Regions from separate parts of the Homo sapiens genome. Here region 2 is linked to region 1. The links are contacts of gene promoters, found by promoter capture Hi-C in blood cells and fetal thymus (Javierre and others, 2016). All regions are on one chromosome and are shown on one strand. Each heading gives the region's core, a stretch centred on a gene start or on the middle of the fragment in contact. The rest is flanking DNA. Distances are from core to core; before and after follow the strand shown. Region 1 holds the start of KIAA1755. Region 2 overlaps RPRD1B (regulation of nuclear pre-mRNA domain containing 1B).

Region 1 (2,926 bases), core at 148-2,647:
AGACAGCCCCTTCTCGCTGTGTCCTTCCATGGTGGAAGGGGCAAGGCAGCTAGCTCTCTGGGGCCTCTTGGGCACTAAGCTGGGCATGGTGGCTCACGCCTGTAATCCCAGCACTTTAGGAGGGTGAGGTGGGCAGATCACCTGAGGTCAGGAGTTCGAGACCAGCCTGGCCAACATGGCGAAATGCAGTCTCTACTAAAAATACAAAAATTGGCCAGGTGTGGTGGCGGGTGCCTAAAATCCCAGCTGCTCGGGAGGCTGAGGCAGGAAAATTGCTTGAACCTGGGAGGTAGAGGTTGCAGTGAGCTGAGATCATGCCACTGCACTCCAGCTTGGGTGGGCAACAGAGTGAGACTCCATCTCAAATATATATGTGTGTGCGTGTGTGTGTATATATATGTATATATGTGTGTATATATATGTGTGTGTATATATATGTGTGTGTATATATGCCTATACATATTAGTGCCTATATATGTATATATATAGGTGTATATATGTATATATATAGGTGTATATATGTATATATATAGGTATATATATGTAGGTGTATATATATATATAGAGAGAGGCACTAATCCCATTCGTGAGGGCTCTGTCCTCTCATGACCCAATCACTTTCCAAAGGCCCCACCTCCTAATGCCATCATACTGAGGATTAGGTCTGGACATACGAATTTGGGAGGGGACACACACATATAGACCCTAGCGGTCATCTAGTTTCTTAGTCTCACTCCAAAGCTGAGGCTCAGTAGGAAATACCGACTTGGCCAAGGTCATTATCTGAGAGTCAAGAACAGAACTCGCACACAGCCATCATCACCTCAAAGCCTTGAATTAGGCCGTCATGATGGGGCATAATGTGGGAGAATTCAAGGGCGCTGGGACAGATGCTTACTCCTCATCACCAAATCTAAGCAGCAGGCACTATCATCATCATCATCATCATCATCATCATCATCATCATCCTCCTCCCACCCCATTTTACAGATGAAGAAATCGAAGCTTAAGAGAGTCTGTGACTCCCTGGGAAGTGTAGGAGGAGGAGACTCGAACTTGGGCCTGCCAGCGAGGTCCGCGGGCGCTTAACCCGGCTGCTGCGGCTCGAGGCCTCGCTCTGCGGGTCTGTACAATGGGGCTGTCCGGGCCGGGTGCGCCGTGGGAAGAGCGAGGAGCGGGGAGGAAAACTTGGCGGGGCGGACTCGGGTTCCTCGGGTTCCAGCTGGCTGCTGAGGGGGTGGACGGAGGGAAGGGGGGGCGGTGGGGGCGGGGCGCGCGGGCTGGGCACAAAGGGCTCAGGCACAAAGGGGCCGCTGTCCCGCCGCGCCCCGCCCCGCCCCGCCTCTGCTGCCGCCCCCCGTCTGGTGGCCCGACCCGCGCCGCCCGCGGCTCCCTTATGTCTCTCGCCGTCTCCAGCCTCAGTCCCTCTCTGTCTCTCTCTCAGTCTCTCTCCCTGTCCTCCCCGGCCGCTCCTCCGAGATGACGCCGGGGTCGGTGCCCCGGGCCTGCCCTATCCCCTGGCTCCAGGGCTAGGCGGGACCGAGGGCTGCCCCAGACAGACGGACCCGCGGACCCACAGACCCCGCGCCCAGGAGAGGAGCCGCGCCGCCCGCCGCTGGCAGCCCGTCACCATGGTAACGCGCCAAGGCCTGGACCACCTCGCTCTGCCCCCTTTCAGTGGGCACAGCCCTCCCCATTCCCTGCAGAACAGCCCCGGGTGGCCCTGGCCTTTTACACTGAGACGACCCTCAGTGCCTTGGCAGGGTTGTGCTTACCTGCTTCCACCCCAGCAGGGGTTCAAGGGCAGGAGCCCATCTCTGGCCGCGTCCTCTCCTGGCTTCTCCATGTGTGTGTATGGATGGAGTAAGATTGTACTTGTAAACTTTAATATTCCCCAACCCCTAGACCTGAGCCTGAATCTCAGCCCTGAGGCTGAGGGCTGAAACGGGGTGGTTTTGCATGTTTGTTTTGGAACTGACTGTGATATGCACATTGTCCCGGCAGGGAGTTTGGATGGGGAAGAGTGGTGGTGGGGGTTAAAGTCCCCTCCCAGGCCAGCCAGGCAGTGCAGGGCGAGGAGGGTTAAGGGTCCAGGGTGAAAAGGAGAGAACTGCTTACCAAAACTTGGGATGCTTTTGCTGTTTTAGACTCAGCTATGGAAAGTCAGATATACACATTGAAACCCAGGGTGCTTCCATGGGAATTGGCTGGGGAGAGGGAAGAGGAAGGGACTTTTGGAGCTGGAACCTTGAAAAAAGTTGAGACATTCTGGGAGAATGTGTGTGTGTGTGTGTGTGTGTGTGTGTGTGTGGTGGTGGTGGTGGCAGGGATGCGTTTGTGCCAGTATCTGGCAACAGGGAATGAAAGAAAAGTCTGTTTTTGGAGGATTTCAGCCCAGCTCCAGACAGATACAAGAGCCCCAGGCAGATTCACAGGGGCTGTAAGGATTTTGAAAAAAGCTGTGAAGACAGGCCAAGGCTTTAACCCTGTGACTGTGACCAACCATGTTGAATTTGTGTGGGTTTTCACTCACAGCAAATGCATCTCCACAAGCAGAAGAATTCCATATAGAGGTGTTCATACTCTCTCTCTCTCTCTCTCACACACACACACACACACACGCAGGCACTCACACACACGTACACATGCACACACACGTACACATGCACACACACATACACATGCACGCACAGAGCACACCTGAATGCTCCCACTGACTCACACAGCTGAACACATGTTCACACCCTCTCATACACCCATGCCTTCTGCACCTGCTCCCCCATACTGCTAAACTATGGGCATACATTGGCATACACACCACAGACATATTGCAAAACCGGGCACCTACATCCATGCACTGCGGGGACAGGTGTACACACACATGGCTCTTGGAGCTGTTTGAAAATACTCTCATAAGCCAGTGGTT
Region 2 (2,926 bases), core at 241-2,740, 200 kb after region 1:
ATACATGGCTAGCTTTACATTAACTTGCTTGCAATTTTTGCAGATTATGATTTTGACAGTAAGAATAAATGAAGTGGTCCTTTTAGTAGTAAGTATTTTTAAAATGTGATTTAACCTGTTTAGGGATTTTGCCAGGAGACTACACTGAAGGGAGAAAGAGAAGAAAATGGGTTGAAGGTGTGTGTGAGGAAGTGAAAAGAGAGACTCCAATCTGAATAAAGAAGAAAATGAGGACTCGAGGACTAGGAAGAGGTGGGGGAGGAATCAAGAGACTGCAGGTCCCAGTGGGGTGAATTCCTGGGGTGGGAAAGCAGAGTGAGGGGCTGAGATGCTTCTTGCGTGACTCACAAGGCCTCCGAGCTGTGTTCTCCAACCCAGTACGCCCACTGCCTGAGGTCTTTCCCTGTGCTGCTTCCACTGCCTGGTGGCCCTTCCTTCCCTTGGATATCCTCATGGCTTGCTTCCTAATTTTTCGGGTCTCTGCTCAAGGTCATCTCATCAGAAAGGCTTTCCCCAAACACCTTTAAAATACCATTAATACCGCCTGCAATCATTTTCCGCTCCCACTGCCCTGCTTTATTTTCCTTCTTGACACTTCACTTGAGGGGATATAGGTGGGCCTCAAATATTTGTTGAGGGAAATATTTCATCAGTGACCTTGATTTCCTTTAGATAGATATGGAAGAAGTTAGAGAAGCAGCCAAGTCAAGGGACTGGAGTGGGAAAATGGTGGCCTTTGGAAGACAATGGAATGAAAGGTCTGAGCTTTTGTAAGGGGAGGAACATAGGCTTTGCAGCCTAGATTAGAATCCCAAGATCCACTACTTGTGTGACCTTGGACAAGACACCTATCTTCTCAAAGCCTCAATGTCCTCCTATGCAATATGGAGACACACATTTAGTCACCTCCAAAGACTATCACAAAGAACAGAAGTACCGGTGCAAAGCCTACTGTCAATATTAGTTCATGCTTCATTCCTTCCTTTCAATTTCCCATAAGGAAAGCAGGAATCGTGTCAACTGCCCCTCCCTGTTTAACTAGGGAGGTCACGACTAGGGCAAAATGACATGTCTAACAGACACCTGAAATTCCTGGCACTGAACGCACTATCATCTACGGGGCTTGTCAGAGAGCAGGGCACAAATCACACAGCCCTGAATCATAATTTTTTTTCTTTTAGTAAGAGGGTTATGAGTCTAACAGACAGAATAATACCTAATCTCCCCCACCCACCCCACACGCACACAATTTGTACTATGTTTTTAACAGACCTTATTTAGAGAGCCACAGGTTGTGGCACACCAGCATTTCTGCAATAATTCCTAGAATCACTATTCAAGCTTTGACTATTTCAAAAGTTTCTTTGTTCACCATGTGAGTTATGTTTGCAAATCCCAAGATGGTAGAGCAACCAATACAACATGGAAAGTAGTCTATACCTGCAGACGTTAAGTATGGCCTAGGGTTACTGCATTACAGTTATGTCCCTCTCTCCTCACCTTTCACCCAAACTCTACCTTCTCACCTGTTATTTTTTCCAATAGAGAAACATCTTGCACTTCCTGGGGCAGAGAAGCAATTTTCTGTCGGACAGTAGCATCCCCTGATGCGGCATTTTCCAGATCCTGCAAAGCTTTGATTAGTTCCTCAGTCTGTAAGATGAAAACACAAACAACACTACCCATTAAGACATGGGGTTTAAAGAAAATTAGTTGGAGTTAAATGAGGTGGAGGCAAATTCTAAAAACAGTCATTCCTGCCATTTCTTAAAAAAAACTGTTCTTAGCCCCAGAGCTTACATGTAAGTCAATGTCACGGACTCTAAGAAAATCCACAAAATTAGTTTATCTAAGTCCATGGCAGAACATGAATGAAATTCTGAATAATTATTATTATTTTTTAATTCTAAAAGAACATGTTTTTGGCAATTCAAAACAATGGAGTTTGGTTCATGTTGCTTAATTTCAAATGATGTATCATTTCCAGTATAGAATAAAGGTATAAATATCAGATGTTAACAACTGTGTGTTGTGGCCAGGTGTGGTGGCTCGCACCTGTAATCCTAGCACTTTGGGAAGCCAAGGCAGGAGGATCACTTGAGCCCAGGAGTTCGAGACCAGCCTGGACAATATAGCGACACCCTGTCTCTACAAAAAAATTAAAATAAAATAATAAGCCAAGCATGGTGGCATATGTCTATAGTCCCAGCTACTTGGGAGGCTGAGGTAGGAGTATCACTTGAGCCCCAGAGGTTGAGTTTGCAGTGAACTATGATCATGCTACTGCACGCCAGCCTGGGTAACAGAGCAAGATCCTGTCTCAAGAAGGAGAAGGAAAAAATTATATGTTGACTGATCAACCTACTTCAATTCTTTCTTGGGTTTTCTTGACAAAATGGATGTCACTCCCAAAATTAAATGTATCAAACTTATTATAAACCCAGGGGGAAAAAACAAGAAAAGTAAACCAGGGATACATTTTCTGTATATATCAAAAAGGAGTTTCTTAAATTGTCAGAAAACAATGCTAACAGGCCACTCCATAATCACCAAGGAGTAGCTAGCTCTGTAGATGGTAGTTAGATTACCCTGAAAGGTAATAATCTAGGCTGTAGTCTTTAAAGTGTTTAAATCCAAAGATATATGACCTAACACTGCTGTCATTTAATCCCTAGTCTAACTCAACACCGTAACATAACACAAACTAGACATGTTTCCTATTTACATAGGCTTTAAGCATGACCATGTGTAATAAAGCTGTTTTAGGCAAAATAAGATGAAGCCCCCCCCGCCCCCGCCTTGAAAAGAGCATGGGCTCTGAAGTCAGACACACCTGGATTTAAATTAAGACACTGGTCAAGTTACTTAAACTGTCACCTTGTGCCCAACTTCTTTCATTTAGATTTTGTAAGCTAACCTGTATAGC

What was found. The method cuts DNA at HindIII sites, captures the fragments that hold promoters and counts their contacts. A CHiCAGO score of 5 or more calls a contact.
Region 2: a fragment that was not itself captured here is called in contact with the fragment with the promoter of KIAA1755 in region 1 in 1 of 17 cell types (monocytes); the score reaches 5.4 in monocytes.

The regions. Positions count from the first base shown.
Region 1 is chr20:38,259,206-38,262,131 of GRCh38, reverse strand. KIAA1755 reads left to right here and starts at 1,397. Exons shown (of 14, transcript NM_001029864.2): 1 at 1,397-1,634. The coding sequence starts at 1,632. It overlaps LOC149684 (a long non-coding RNA gene), which reads right to left and starts at 1,957. Exons shown (of 2, transcript NR_104170.1): 1 at 1,776-1,957. RefSeq lists an enhancer at 1,140-1,639. The HindIII fragment of the contact is 7,247 bases long and covers 1,008-2,926 here.
Region 2 is chr20:38,058,121-38,061,046 of GRCh38, reverse strand. It overlaps RPRD1B (regulation of nuclear pre-mRNA domain containing 1B), which reads right to left. Exons shown (of 7, transcript NM_021215.4): 5 at 1,527-1,653. Among named protein-coding and RNA genes, the nearest start is that of RPRD1B, 26 kb to the right of the region's middle. The HindIII fragment of the contact is 293 bases long and covers 1,344-1,636 here.